Linked DNA regions of Homo sapiens: all the other regions are linked to region 1. The links are contacts of gene promoters, found by promoter capture Hi-C in blood cells and fetal thymus (Javierre and others, 2016). All regions are on one chromosome and are shown on one strand. The core of a region is centred on a gene start or on the middle of the fragment in contact, and the rest is flanking DNA. Distances in the headings are between cores, read along the strand shown.

The links. Contacts are between HindIII fragments. The CHiCAGO score rates a contact against its expected background, and 5 or more counts as called.
Region 2: a contact is called between a fragment that was not itself captured here and the fragment with the promoter of UCN in region 1, in 2 of 17 cell types (neutrophils and total B cells). The highest score is 6.3, in neutrophils.
Region 3: a contact is called between a fragment that was not itself captured here and the fragment with the promoter of UCN in region 1, in 7 of 17 cell types (total B cells, naive B cells, activated CD4 T cells and 4 more). The highest score is 9.2, in total B cells.
Region 4: a contact is called between a fragment that was not itself captured here and the fragment with the promoter of UCN in region 1, in 1 of 17 cell types (total B cells). The highest score is 5.2, in total B cells.
Region 5: the fragment with the promoter of TMEM214 here is called in contact with the fragment with the promoter of UCN in region 1 in 12 of 17 cell types (erythroblasts, total B cells, naive CD8 T cells and 9 more); the score reaches 8.5 in erythroblasts.

Annotation. Positions count from the first base shown.
Region 1 is chr2:27,307,153-27,309,754 of GRCh38, reverse strand. It overlaps UCN (urocortin), which reads left to right and starts at 1,310. Exons shown (of 2, transcript NM_003353.4): 1 at 1,310-1,595; 2 at 1,847-2,355. The coding sequence starts at 1,860. The coding sequence ends at 2,234. TRIM54 (tripartite motif containing 54) reads right to left here. Exons shown (of 9, transcript NM_187841.3): 9 at 2,320-2,602. It overlaps MPV17 (mitochondrial inner membrane protein MPV17), which reads left to right. Exons shown (of 8, transcript NM_002437.5): 8 at 1-263. The HindIII fragment of the contact is 26,108 bases long and covers 1-2,602 here.
Region 2 is chr2:26,937,011-26,939,612 of GRCh38, reverse strand. The region is part of intron 8 of DPYSL5 (dihydropyrimidinase like 5); the gene reads right to left. Among named protein-coding and RNA genes, the nearest start is that of MAPRE3, 32 kb to the left of the region's middle. The HindIII fragment of the contact is 2,654 bases long and covers 1-2,602 here.
Region 3 is chr2:26,981,908-26,984,509 of GRCh38, reverse strand. All of the region lies in intron 1 of MAPRE3 (microtubule associated protein RP/EB family member 3), which reads right to left. Among named protein-coding and RNA genes, the nearest start is that of MAPRE3, 13 kb to the right of the region's middle. RefSeq lists an enhancer at 1,864-1,923. The HindIII fragment of the contact is 170 bases long and covers 1,220-1,389 here.
Region 4 is chr2:27,010,007-27,012,608 of GRCh38, reverse strand. All of the region lies in intron 1 of MAPRE3 (microtubule associated protein RP/EB family member 3), which reads right to left. All of the region lies in intron 1 of MAPRE3-AS1 (MAPRE3 antisense RNA 1), which reads left to right. Among named protein-coding and RNA genes, the nearest start is that of MAPRE3-AS1, 3.3 kb to the left of the region's middle. The HindIII fragment of the contact is 2,957 bases long and covers 1-2,602 here.
Region 5 is chr2:27,031,681-27,034,282 of GRCh38, reverse strand. TMEM214 (transmembrane protein 214) reads right to left here and starts at 1,318. Exons shown (of 17, transcript NM_017727.5): 1 at 1,117-1,318; 2 at 17-216. The coding sequence starts at 1,267. RefSeq lists an enhancer at 1,406-1,695. The HindIII fragment of the contact is 3,121 bases long and covers 543-2,602 here.

The DNA of each region.
Region 1 (2,602 bases), core at 61-2,560:
AAATGTACACTGACTGCTTTAGAGCCCTTGATAATAGTCTTATTCCCACCACATACTAGGCACTCCATAAATATCTGTTGAACCTTCATGACCTTATCAACTTTACACCCATATCCCAGCAAATGCCACTCATCCCCACTCTTCATAGACACATTTGTTACTCTAACCCTGCCTAGGCTTCTTGTAGCTCCAGCTCTTTAGAGACTCCCGGAACCCTTTATATGGTGCCTCAGTAAATATGTTATTAAATATGTAATCCGGAATCTGCAGTGGTAATGAGTAAGTTTTTAAGCAGAAAACTATTGGGGAGTCATTTCTAGAGCTGGAAAGAAGCCAAGAGACCACCAAGCCCAATTTTTTTTTTTTTTTTTTTTTTTTTTTTTGAGACAGGGTCTTGCTCTGTCTCCCAGGCTGGAGTGCAGTGGCGCGATCTTGCCTCACTGCAGCTTCCGCCTCCTGGGTTCAAGCAGTTCTCCTGCCTCAGCCTCCTGAGTAGCTGGGACCACAGGCGCATACCGCCACGCCCGGCTAATTTTTGTATTTTTAGTAGAGATGGGGTTTCGCCATATTGGCCAGGCTGGTTTCAAACTACTGACCTCGTGATCCGCCTGCCTCGGCCTCCCAAAGTGTTGGGATTACAGGCGTGAGCCACCGCGCCTGGCCAAGCCCAGTCTTACAAATGAGGACCCTGAGGTTGGTAGGAGGGAGGTGACCTGTCCACACCAGGAGTTAGCAGAAACTTGAACCCATATTTCTTTGCTGCTCATGGGCAGAGTTACACTGCTGCTATGATTCCCAGGAGAGAAACTGAACTTTGCTAAACTACTTTGGCAAACTCAAAAGCAGATGGGCCAGCCATTTGTGGTCTGAAAGCACTCGGATGCTAGAGACCCTCTGTTACATGGTGCCTGTCAGACAGCCCTACAATTTGGATCCTGGGGCTGGAAAAAGATAAGAATGCTGGGAGACTTTGGTTGTGGCAGACTGCCTCTCAGTGGGTCCCACTGTGTTGGCTGAGTGCCAGCGGTGGACTCCTGATGCCTGCATTTGCAGAACTGATAGCTGCAGGGAGGCAGTGGGTTCCAGCGGCACAGCGTTCTCACATTTCTGGCCACTTCTAGAGGCAGAGGACGGGGTCAGCACCATGGACAGCCTCACGGTCCCGCCTCCCTTTCGTGTGTCAGAACACGCGACCCGGACTAGTCTGGTCTGGGGACGGCCCTAGTCATTGCTGGCTGTTCTAAGCGGGGCGAGGGACTCCCGTGGGTCCCAGAGCAGTCTTTACGCCCCAGCCGGCTTCTCGCTTTCCTGCGTCCAGTGCTGCTTCCAGCGCTAGCCCCAGGGGCACGAAGGCTGGTGTAGGGAGGTGCGCCCCTCCGGGGGCCCGCCAGCCGTCAGACTCGAAGCTGTGGCTGTCATTGCTTCTACAATCAGTGCATGTTCTTCGCTGACGTCAGTCGGAGCTGTCCTGGCACTATATAAGGCTGGCGACAGCCCCGGGACAGACCCTGTGTTCCCCAAGGCGTCTTCAGCCTGCCCCGAGGGACAGAGACTGGAGCTCAATCTTGGACCGTACAGACGCTCGCCGACAACCTGTGAGTGGCTCAGAGCGTCCGCCCAGCCTCCCCCTGCACCAGGACTCCGCTCAGCTCAGCCACCACGCTCCTCCGGGGAGGGAGGCTGGGTGGAAGGGATGGAACAGCACTGGCGCAGTGGCTGGGGCTGGAGGGCAGGCTGCGGGCATTGGGCGGCGGCCGGAGGGGTCGCCGGGCGAGCGCGGGGAGGGGAGCGGCGGCCTGCAGCTGTCCCAGGCGCACCTCACCCTGCGCTGCCCCTGTGTGTCCAGGGCCGGCGGCACCATGAGGCAGGCGGGACGCGCAGCGCTGCTGGCCGCGCTGCTGCTCCTGGTACAGCTGTGCCCTGGGAGCAGCCAGAGGAGCCCCGAGGCGGCCGGGGTCCAGGACCCGAGTCTGCGCTGGAGCCCCGGGGCACGGAACCAGGGTGGCGGGGCCCGCGCGCTCCTCTTGCTGCTGGCGGAGCGCTTCCCGCGCCGCGCGGGGCCCGGCCGATTGGGACTCGGGACGGCAGGCGAGCGGCCGCGGCGGGACAACCCTTCTCTGTCCATTGACCTCACCTTTCACCTGCTGCGGACCCTGCTGGAGCTGGCGCGGACGCAGAGCCAGCGGGAGCGCGCCGAGCAGAACCGCATCATATTCGACTCGGTGGGCAAGTGATGGCCCGGTTTGGGGCTGCGAAAACGTTGACCCCTTTCCCCCACCCCAGAGTTGGGATGCGGGGCAGAGCCACCAGGGCACTGTCTGCGTGACTATTTTTTAATAAAAGTACTGAAGACCCGTTGGCTTTTGTCGTAGAGGCAGGGCAGTCACAGCAGCGTGGGAACCCGTGGGAAGGTGGGGCCCCCGGGCCAGCGGGAGGGGAACAAAATGCTGTGGGGGGCTCCGAGACAGCGGCTTTCAGCCAGGTCAGCCAGGTGCATGTGGACCCCAAGGGTCCCCAAATCCCCAGGACCTCAGAGGTCCCGGCACCACCGCCCCGCCCTCGGCCCTCTTCCCAGGGCGCTGGGCTCACCAGTTCGCTCCTG
Region 2 (2,602 bases), core at 76-2,575, 370 kb after region 1:
GTTGAATAACTTGGACTCATAGCCTTCCTTGGATGTGGGGATTCTAATGGCCCAGAAGGGGAAGGAGGGATGAGCTAGAAGCCTGACTTAATAGACCGAGAGTGGTATGCAAGCCACTCAGTTCTTCCCCAATGCCGTTCATGACTACGGTCCTCACACATATATTAAGGCTGTCCTCGGGCCAGGTGCTCATGCCTGTAATCCCAGCACTTTGGGAGGCCGAGGCAGGTGCATCACTGGAGGCCAGGAGTTCGAGATCAGCCTTGGCAACATGGTGAAACCCTGTCTCTACTAAAAATAGAAAAAAATTATCTGAGCGTAGTGGTGGGCGCCTGTAATCCCAGCTACTCTGGAGGCCGAGGTGAGAGAATTGCTTGAATCCAGGAGGCGGAGGCTGCAGTGAGCCAAGATAGCCCCAATGCACTCCAGCCTGGGGAACAGAGGGAGACTCTGTCTGAAAAGATGAAAAAAAAGCCATCCTCCATCCAAGGCTGTGGGTGGCTAAGGCACAGGCAGGCCCTCGAGGGGCTCCTGGGCCAAAGAAGACGTAGGGAAGAACAGGGAGAGAGGGCTCATGGCAGCAGATCCTCTGCCCAATGAGGGAGGCAGGCAGGTGGCCTGGATTCAGAGATCTCTGCAGGCCAAGGGCTCAGAGGCAGTGAGGGGCGGAGGAGAGAGAATGCCCACGCAAACCAGGTCAGGGCCTCAAGAGGAAATGGCTTTGCGGGGCCAGAGAAAGGCCTGGCTGGAGCAGGGGAGTCAGGTGGGGGAGGGGATGACTGCTGGGACCACACTGTGGGTGCCCTGAAGGTCAGGGGCAGGGGTCCCATTGTACTCTGTAAGAGGCCCCAGAGCCTTGTGAGTGCCTGTGGGCCATCTAAGATGCCCACTCCAGGAGACTGTGGGGGCAGAAAGCATTATCTGACCTGGTGAGGAAGCATATTCTTAAGGCTCTCAGATGATGGCCAGTTAGCTCCATAGGGCTGTCTCCACGGGGGACCTGGCAGGGCTTATCAGTCTCAGCTCCTGCCCAGTGACTAATGTCTTTGGCCAAACCCGTGGTGAAGATGCATCGCTCTTCCTGTGCGGTAGGCTGGGCCTTCTCTGGGCCAAAGAGGCTGCTCTGGCCCTTGCAGAGACTCTTTGCAAGAGATTCTCCCGCAGAGCCCCAAGGCTCCCCACACTCTCTGGACCTGCAGAAGCCCTGATAGATGAATGGAATCTTTAGGGTTTCCTTTCTCCTGAGGGGCCCTCTGGATACCTGAGCAGGGCTCAGGGCAGAAGATGCCCACTGCAGTCATGAAGGGCAGGTCAGGGACCCTGAGAGCAACAGGCTCAACTCCTGCTCTTTAACCAGCAAGTCTTCCTGAGCACCCAGCTTTCTGAAAAGGCTCCTACACAAAGGTACCCACTAAGCAGCTGTGAATGACGGTAGTTACATTCTAGGAGGCCCTCTGAGCTCTCTCAGTGCTGCCCTGAATCTGGGAGGTAGGAAGCCCCCATCCAAACCATTTAAAGTTTAAAACATGACTGGCTTTGCTAAGCACTGTAACATTTTATATGATCAAATGAAAAAATTTCTTGTCCCTTTAAGAAACCAGATTTTAGGCCAGGTGCAGTGGCTCACATCTGTAATCCCAGCATTTTGGGAGGCCGAGGCGGGTGGATCAGTTGAGGTCAGGAGTTTGAGGCCAGCATGGGCAACATGATGAAAAAATACAAAAAATACAAAAATTAGGCTGGGCACGGTGGTGCAGGGTGGCTCACGCCTGTAACCCCAGCACTTTGGGAGGCTGCACTCCAGCCTGGGAGACAGAGTGAGACCCTGGCTCAACAAACAAACAAACAAACAAACAAACAAACAAACAAAAAACTAGCCAGGCATGGTGGTGCACACGTGTAGCCCCAGCTACTCAGGAGGTTGTACCACTGCATTCCAGCCTGAGTGACAGAGCCAGACCCTGTCTGAAAAAAAAAAACAAGCCAGAATAAAGCATAAATAGTTATATCTATAGATTGTACTTTTTTATTCCTGCAGGGCCTAACAAATCACAAATCATACCCTAAAGTAGATAATTAGGAAACAGCTCATATTTTCTTATAGGAATAATAATTGGTGTCTGAATTTTCTATCAAGTATCTTGCATCATATAAATTATAACCAATAATGTGTTACAAAAGCAAAATTATAGTCATCATAAATTTCTATAAATATTAAAATATTAAAATTATGCTCCAAATCCTATAAAGTAGCACCCATTTACAATATGCACTGATTAAAAAGGGATTAAAAAGGGATTCAGACTATTATCATAACACAAAAAGTACATTTCTACTTAAATAAATAGAATTAATTTAAATAATTAAAATACATTTGACAAAGTAAGCTAGATATAAAAACTTAAATTATTCAATGATACTTATTCCAGTCTATTTGAATTTGTGTGGGTTTGGGCGCTGTAATTTGGGTGGGTTGAAGCACTTATTATCTTTTTTGTTCTTTCAGTAAATTTGCTTGTAGCAAGCAGGGGTGTTTCAAAAGATTCTTGACCTTGGAACCAAGCCCACATTATTATAGTGGAGTCTTGGTAATTGTTTCTTT
Region 3 (2,602 bases), core at 55-2,554, 330 kb after region 1:
GAGTGGTAGAATTAAAAGTAGTTCTAATTTTCTCACTTACTCTTTACTATCTTTTCCAATTTTTCTACAAATGAAAAATAGTTAGATTCCATGTTTAAAAAAAATAATATGTTAGTATGTGTGTAGAAAAAAGTTGGAATATTCAACAAAATAGTGGCAGTGATTCTCTTTGGGGGACAGAGTTATGGAGGACTTCTACTTTTTGCATTGTGCATTTCTGCAATGTTTTAATTCATAAATATTTAATTCTAAAAGCAATTTTGAATTATATTTGTCATCCAGCAAGGGGTTTTTGATTATGACTATACACTAAAGGCATTAAACACATAACACTCTTACAAGTTTCTCTGAAAATATGGGCAAGGTCGTAATGATTTTGAGAATAATATATAAATATATTTAAATTCATGGGAAAGCTAATGCATGGACACAAACATTATTAGGGTGAGGGTGAGACAAGTGATGCAAAAATTCTCGAGTGTTCTTCAGAGGAATAACTGTGGACTTGGCAGTCATCTGAGGAAGTTCTTTCCAAACCTCACATCCCCAACAAGGGGAAGGGACGGGGTGAGGGGCAGCTGCTACCCAGGGACACCTGGAGTCAAAGGCTTCTCAGTTGTTTCTCTTTGCTTGCCTTGGGCCTTCAATGGGTATCTTGGGAAGCTTCTTAAGGAAGCTGACAGGCAGCCTCTTTGGAATTAGAAAAGGCTGTCAATTCCAGAAAACCAAGCTGAAAGGAATATATAAGATCTTTTAGCTAACAGCTCTGGGAGCTTTAAAACAACTAGTTATTTCCTAATGCCTCCCAAAGAGGTCATCTGCTCTAGGTGGCAAGCAACATAATTTCCACAGAACAGCTAGATACTGGGAGAACCATCTGAGTTCAAATGATGAATTTTAAAGATAAAGGTACAAATGGGATCTTCTTAAGTACCCTTGACAGGGCCTGCATTATCACTGAGTTCTCAATACCCTTCGAGAGGGCCTCAGAGGCATGAGTCCTCTTGTGTTATGACCTCCTAACACATCCTGGGACAGCCACGAGGCCAGAGCAGTGCCTTGCTGGGTCCTGAAAAATCAAGCCTTCCAGGCCAGGAGAAGTTCAATCAGAGGCTTGCATGTCTGAGAAGCCACAGGGGAAGCAGAGCAGTACTTGGGGAGAGTTGCTAGGCAGGGTTGGGGGTGCTGCATGGAGAAAAGGAGTTCTGGAGCCTAAGCTTGGAACCCAGTGGGCTCCTGGAAGATCTAGTCATCCATACCTAGGAGAGTGGGAAATGCACCCTTCGGAAAGGCTCCACTACACATTTGATTTTTAATTTATGCAAGCACAGATTATGTGGTGGGTTCCGTCTCTGAATGTCTATCTCTGTCTCTGTCTTACTGGAAGCTTAACTCTGCCCAAGTGAGGCTTTATTGAACAGGATAGTGGTAGCGGTAGTGGGATCTTCCTCTCATGTCTTTCCATTTCCCTCTGACAGGAGCTGGGTTGGGCCTTCCTAATTTTCAATGCTACTCCAAATCTTGAGAGTCTCTGAGTTTTGACTTTGAGAAGTCCAAAACATTGCTTTTGCTGGCACTCTTGTCCATTAGGGACAAATGTGAGGGCTTTTTCGTTAGTTACTATGGTCACTATATACTCACTCCTAGGTACCATTTCATAGCATTAAGGATGGACAGCAACAAATATGCCTTAGAAATCCATTCATTCTGCAATTATTTGTTGAGCCCCAGATACTGCTAGGTCTCACATGGTCCCTGCCTCATGAAGCTAGTTATCTAGTGAAATGGATAAACAGTAGTAAAATAATCATTCTACCTAATTATAGGCCAAGGGCTAATTATTCTCAGGTAGGCTGACTAGGTGGAAAGAGAAAAGAACAGTGGCAGGAGGCTGTGTTTATAGAGAGTCCATTTAATTCCACAGGCAACACAATGCACTTTTGCTCCTGCCCCACCTGGCTTGAGGCCTGTACTGCAAGCTGTTTGTTCCTTCCTGGTAGGGACTGGCAGGGAGCCATACTTCTGCTTAGGTCCTGGCTTTCATGAAACGGGACTACAAAATGTCCAGGCAAGGTAATGTCAGTGTAAGGCCCTGGAAAGAAAGCAGCCCTAGCTTTTCCGTTTCCACAGGTTGACTCCTGCACCTGACTTTCCACATATTCCCACCTAGTTAAGTCCCCTGCTATCAGCCCCTGTGGCTGCTTTGCATGGTGAGCTGTGTAAATGGCTTCAGTTGTGCAGCATGAAAGTAATGTGAATCCAGCAGGTGGAATAAAGACCACAACCCAGGGTGTTAGACAGGGTCAGAGTCAAAGTGAATGATCTAGGAGGACATGAGAAAGAGAGGGGTCAGAGGAGGAAAGGACTTTAGGCCAAGTTTCATAATAGGCAAGAGAGAAACAGGGCTGTTATAAACAGTTGTACACTTTGTACACTGCACAAAGCACCTTGTGGAGGAGATGAGGGCTGGAACCCTCACAAAATGAGTAGAACCCAAGCTCCACTCACAAAACTGCATTCCTAGCAAGGGACTCTATCTGTCTGGAGGAAGAACCTTCACTCACAGAGGCCAGAGAGGCATGGCTCAGTAGGGATCTGCTCA
Region 4 (2,602 bases), core at 52-2,551, 300 kb after region 1:
ACATGCACTGGAGAGCTTCCAGAAGGCCTGCAGATAGCTTCTCTCCTGCCCTACCATAGTGCCCGAAATTCCCACCAGAAATGCCACTCTTGTGGATTACAGCATCCAGCTCCAGAAAGCCTTTGAGTTGTTACCTCAATTTTGCTTTTGAGGAAATGAAGGATGAGGATTCCAGTGACTTTTCCAAGTTCAAGATCAACCACTGGCAAGATCAGAGCTGAACCTGGCCAAATGAACACAAATCCCATGCTCTTTCCACACCACCACACTGGTGCAGGAAGGACGATTTGATTTTTCACAGCTCTAGAGCAGGATGACTTGCCCAGATTTCACCCCTTGAGAATTAGGAGGAGGGAAAGGGAATTTCAGAGGATTTCTTCTTCTTCTTCTTTTTTTTTTTTTTGAGATGGAGTCTTGCTCTGTCACCCAGGCTGGAGTGCAGTGGCATGATCTCGGCTCACTGCAACCTCCACCTCCCAGGTTCAAGCAATTCTCCTGCCTCAGCCTCCCGAGTAGCTGGGATTACAGGCGTCCATCACCATGCTTGGCTAATTTTTGTATTCTTAGTAGAGATGGGGCCACCATATTGGCCAGGCTGGTCTCAAACTTTTTACCTTGTGATCTGCCTGCCTCGGCCTCCCAAAGTGTTGGGATTACAGGCATGAGCCACCATGCCTGGCCCAGTTTTCTTCTTTATACTTATTTTTTCAAGACATTGCAGCATTGCCTTAACCTCTCTCTTTCTTTTTTTTTTTTTTTTTTTGAGATGGAGTCTCGCTTTGTTGCCCAGGCTGGAGTACAATGGCATGATCTCAGCTCACTGCAACCTATACCTCCCTGGTTCAAGCAATCCTCCTGCCTCAGCCTCCCGAATAGCTGGGATTACAGGTGTGTGCCACCACACCCAGCTAATTTTTGTATTTTTAGTAGAGATGAGGTTTCACCGTATTGGCCAGGCTGGTCTTGAACTCCTGACCTCAAGTGATCCACCTGCCTCAGCCTCCCAAAGTGCTAGGATTACAGGCATGAGCCACCAGGTCCGGCCTAGCATTGCCTTAATCTCGACCAGCAAGTGCTTACTGACCACTGACAAAATGCTCAACACCCAGTGAGGCATCATGAGGACATGGGATCATTTCAAGGCATGGGTCTTGTCTTTATTAAGGAGCTTTTCTTTGGTTGAAGAGGTAAGAGTAATTTATAAAATAACAAGGGACGCCACAAAGCAGAATATATGAAGTGCTAAATAGTGAAAGCACCTTTGGCTTTTAAGTGTTCCAGGCACATGAAAAAGATGAGAGGGGGATCAGCAGTTAGAGGGTTTCTGGAGGAAGGTGGCACCTAATTGGGCCTTTAAAGATGACAGGATGCCAGAAAGCAGCGAGGAGAAAATGGGAAATTCTGGACATGGGAAACATATTTATTATTACTTTTATTTTAAAAAAAGAGCATAAGACCAATGACTCAGTCCTGGAGGAATGTTAGGGACGCGATGAAAATAGAGGAGGTGGAGAGAAGGTGATGTCTTAGGAGCCAAGGGAGGGCCCACTTTCAAAGAGGAGGTCATCTGCCCTGTTTAATGAAGCTACCAGACCAGAGGTGGCGATATGGTCATTAAATTGTGCAATAAGAAATGATGAAACTCTGAGTCATTTTGTTGGAGTATGGGGACAGCAGCTAGACCTGCAGATGATTGTGGAGTCCTTGATCACTTGCCCAGGAGGAAGCTGGAGAGGGACATCAGGCATTTGTCATCACAGCCATGTGTGTCTGCTGCAGCACTTCAGGTAGATAGTGAGTGACTGCCTGCAGGGTGGAGAGCATTTTGGTTCTTTCAGTTAAAATTTGAAATGAAATATAGATTGGGCCCGGGTGCTGTGGCTCATGCCTGTAATCCCAGCACTTTGGGAGGCCGAGACAGGTGGATCACCTGAGGTCAGGAGTTCGAGACCAGCCTGGCCAACATGGCAAAACCCCACCCCTACTAAAAATACAAAAATTAGCTGGGTATGGTGACACGCACCTGTAATCTCAGCTTCTTGGGAGGCTGAGATAGGATAATGGCTTGAACCCGGGAGGTGGAGGTTGCAGTGAGCCAATATCACACCACTGCACCCCAGCCTGGGCAACAAAGAGTGAAACTCCATCTCAAAAAAAAAAAAAAAAAAAGAAATACAGATTAAAAGTAGGCTTGTGCTCCTTATCTCAACATCTCACCCATCCCCCTTCAGACTCCATATCCTACCCTCAAGTTCTAGATTTTATCTGTCCAAGAAGACCCATGAGTGCGACTCACGATCTTTCTCCAGCTACTCACAACACTGTATCACAAATGAAAAGCAAGATAAGAAATGTGTTTATATAATAAAGTCTTAACTAAGTTGAATGTTTGGAAAATAATGTTGTACATATTGATTAACTTTGTTTAACTGTGGTTAATCAGAGCCCTTTTTAATGTTTGGTTTTGTGGAAAATTACTGTATTAAGGCAGGAAGAATAGACAAAATTGCTTTCTAAGGACATTGCAGAGCCTCAGATTCAATCAGTCACTCATCACCATTTGTGGAGTGTGTGCTTCAGCACCCAATGCTGTGTGCCAGCC
Region 5 (2,602 bases), core at 69-2,568, 280 kb after region 1:
GTCTAGGCACACTCACAGCTTTCAGTGCTTCCTCCAGGCTGCGGAAGCGGCCCTGCTTCTGGTTTTGGTTGGGAGGAGTTGCCACCTTCTTTGGCTGCTTCTTGTTCCCTGGTTTCTTAGGTTCCACAGCAGGGGGTGGGACCTGCTCCTTATTCTGCCGCTTCATGATATTCTCAAAGCCCCGCTCATAAAGGGTGCTTGTGGTCTGGATTGCAGCTGGGGTGAAGATAGGTAGAGAAAGGCAGGCCACCCTTGAGTCCCCAAGGCCTCACCTATCAGTGGTCCCTTTCCCCACACTGCCACCTAATTCATCTCCAGGGAAGAGCCTGTCTCAAAGCCCCTTCCTCTTGGACTGCTTAAGGAGCAGGGCAGGCTGTTCTCCTGGTAGCTTCTTTCATTACAGCTCTTGAGTCTATGGGCTCTTTCATAAAGATGGGGCAGTTCTTCATTAGACAAATCAGAGTATGTAGGAACAAGCAGAGAGGTTGGATATAGAGGTTTGCCTTATTCAGTGAGTGGCTACTAGTCTGGGAAGACAAGCTTTTTCCATCTTGGTCCTACCCTAACGCCTCTTGGTTCCGACATGACAACTCTATAATCAACAAGTGGCAATCTTTCTCCACTCCTCAGTGGAAGAACCAGGTGTCACTTATAATTCCTGGTGAGTGTTGAGTGTGTGGCGGTCATTTCTCCCACTGCTGGGCCTCCTGTCCCTTCCTCCATGACCTGCTGGTTACTTAAAGAGGGGGCACCGTGTATAATGATCCACAGTACCTCTTCAAAGCTCAGACACCTGCCCAGAGAGACCAGCTAGGGCCCTGGGCAGCTGGGAGAGTGTGTGCAGTGAACTGAGAGTCTGAGGACCGGAATCCTAGCCCCTCTGACACATGACCCTGGCCAAGGTATCCAACTTCACTGGGCCTCAGTTTACTCATCTGGGAGGTGAGGACCGCAACCTTCCCTGGAGCTGTCTGCCTCCCGTGAGGCTCCAAAGAGACAACGCAAGCGTGGCGCTCGGGGATGTGCCTGCGAGCTCGCGCCCAGGTTCTGGGAGCCGCTCGCTGCGACCCTGCCGGACAGGCCTGGGGTAGGCGGCGGGGCAGGGCGGGTACTCACGGGTCAGGTCGTATTTCCACACTCCGTTTGCTTCCCCGAGCGCCCTGCGGTTCCTGCCGCCTCCTCGGCCGCCGGCGCCGGCGCCGACCCCAGGCCGCCGACCCTTCTTCACTACCTCCCACCGCCCCACGCCCGCCGTCTTGGTCGCCATGGCTCGCAGCCCTCCCTCCTCGGCCACTTCCCCGGCTTTCCGGTCCGGCGCGAGCGCGCCGCACTCTGCCACGTCTCCTCGCAGGACCGCGCGCCCGGCGCCCGGCGCCCGCCGCAAGGCAGCCTGGGACTTGTAGTCCCTCTCCTGGGCCGGGCTCTCCTGAGCGAAGAGCATCGGGAAGAGGCTTCCGCGGCAGCCTGCGGCCCCCGCCCAGGCGAAGAGGCCGGGAGGAGAGGAGATTCCCTTCTGAGAACGTTCATTGAGCGTCGATGTGAAGGCCACGGCATTGAGAGACTTGGTAGAACTGTTTCTGTTTTTCTTTCCTTTATTGATCAATTGATTGATTGATTGCCAGGGCCGCGCTCTGTCGCCCAGACTGGAGTGCAGTAGCGCGATCTCAGCTCACTGTAACTTCCGCCACCCAGGTTCAAGCGACTCTCGTGCCTCAGCGTCCCGAGTAGCAGGGACTACAGGCTCCCGCTGCCAAGCCCAGCTAATTTTTGTATTTTTAGTAGAGACGGGGTTTCGCCATGTTGGCTAGGCTGGTCTCGAACTCCTGACCTAAAGTGACCCACCCCACCCCCACCCCTCAGCCTCCCAAAGTGCTGGGATTACAGGCGTGAGCCACGGCGCCCGGCCACTGTTTTTCTTTCCTTTCTCGTAGAGCTGGAAGGATGGAAGGGAAGTAGTGCTCCTCATATCTAGGGAGAGATTGAAGATTAAATGCTTCCTTCCTTCTAGGAAAGTGCTGGCTTTACTGTTGCTAGTGATTAAACCTCGGGTTTAATGGGCTATACAAATCTATTGCCAAAGAACAAGGAAGAGGATGGGGGCTTGAGGAAAGGGCAGAGTGTTGGGGAGCTGGGGTAGGAGGTGGAGAATGGAGAATAATTTTTTTTTTTTTTTTTGAGACAGGATCTTGCTTTGTCGCCCAGGCTGGAGTTCAGTGGCGCGATCACGACTCACTGCAGCCTCAACTTCTAGGGCTCAGGTGATCCCCCACCACGGATCACCTGACCCACCACCACCCCCGGCTAATCTTTGGTATTTTTTGTAGAGACTGGGTTTTGCTGTGTTGCCCAGGCTGATCTCAAACTCCTGGGCTCAGTGATCCACCCTCTTCAGCCTCCCAAAGTGCTGGGATTACAGGAGTGAGCCACCGCTCCTGGCCTCTGAGTTCTTCTCATGGGAGGCTGAGAAAAGTCTGGGGGTCTGGGACAGCCAGGGCCGGGTTTCCCCTTCCAGGCAATGAGAAAGAACAGGCTCTGCCTCCCACCATAAGAGTCAATCCCAAGTTCCAGATGTGTCAGGGAAGCGATGGAGAGCCCCAGACTT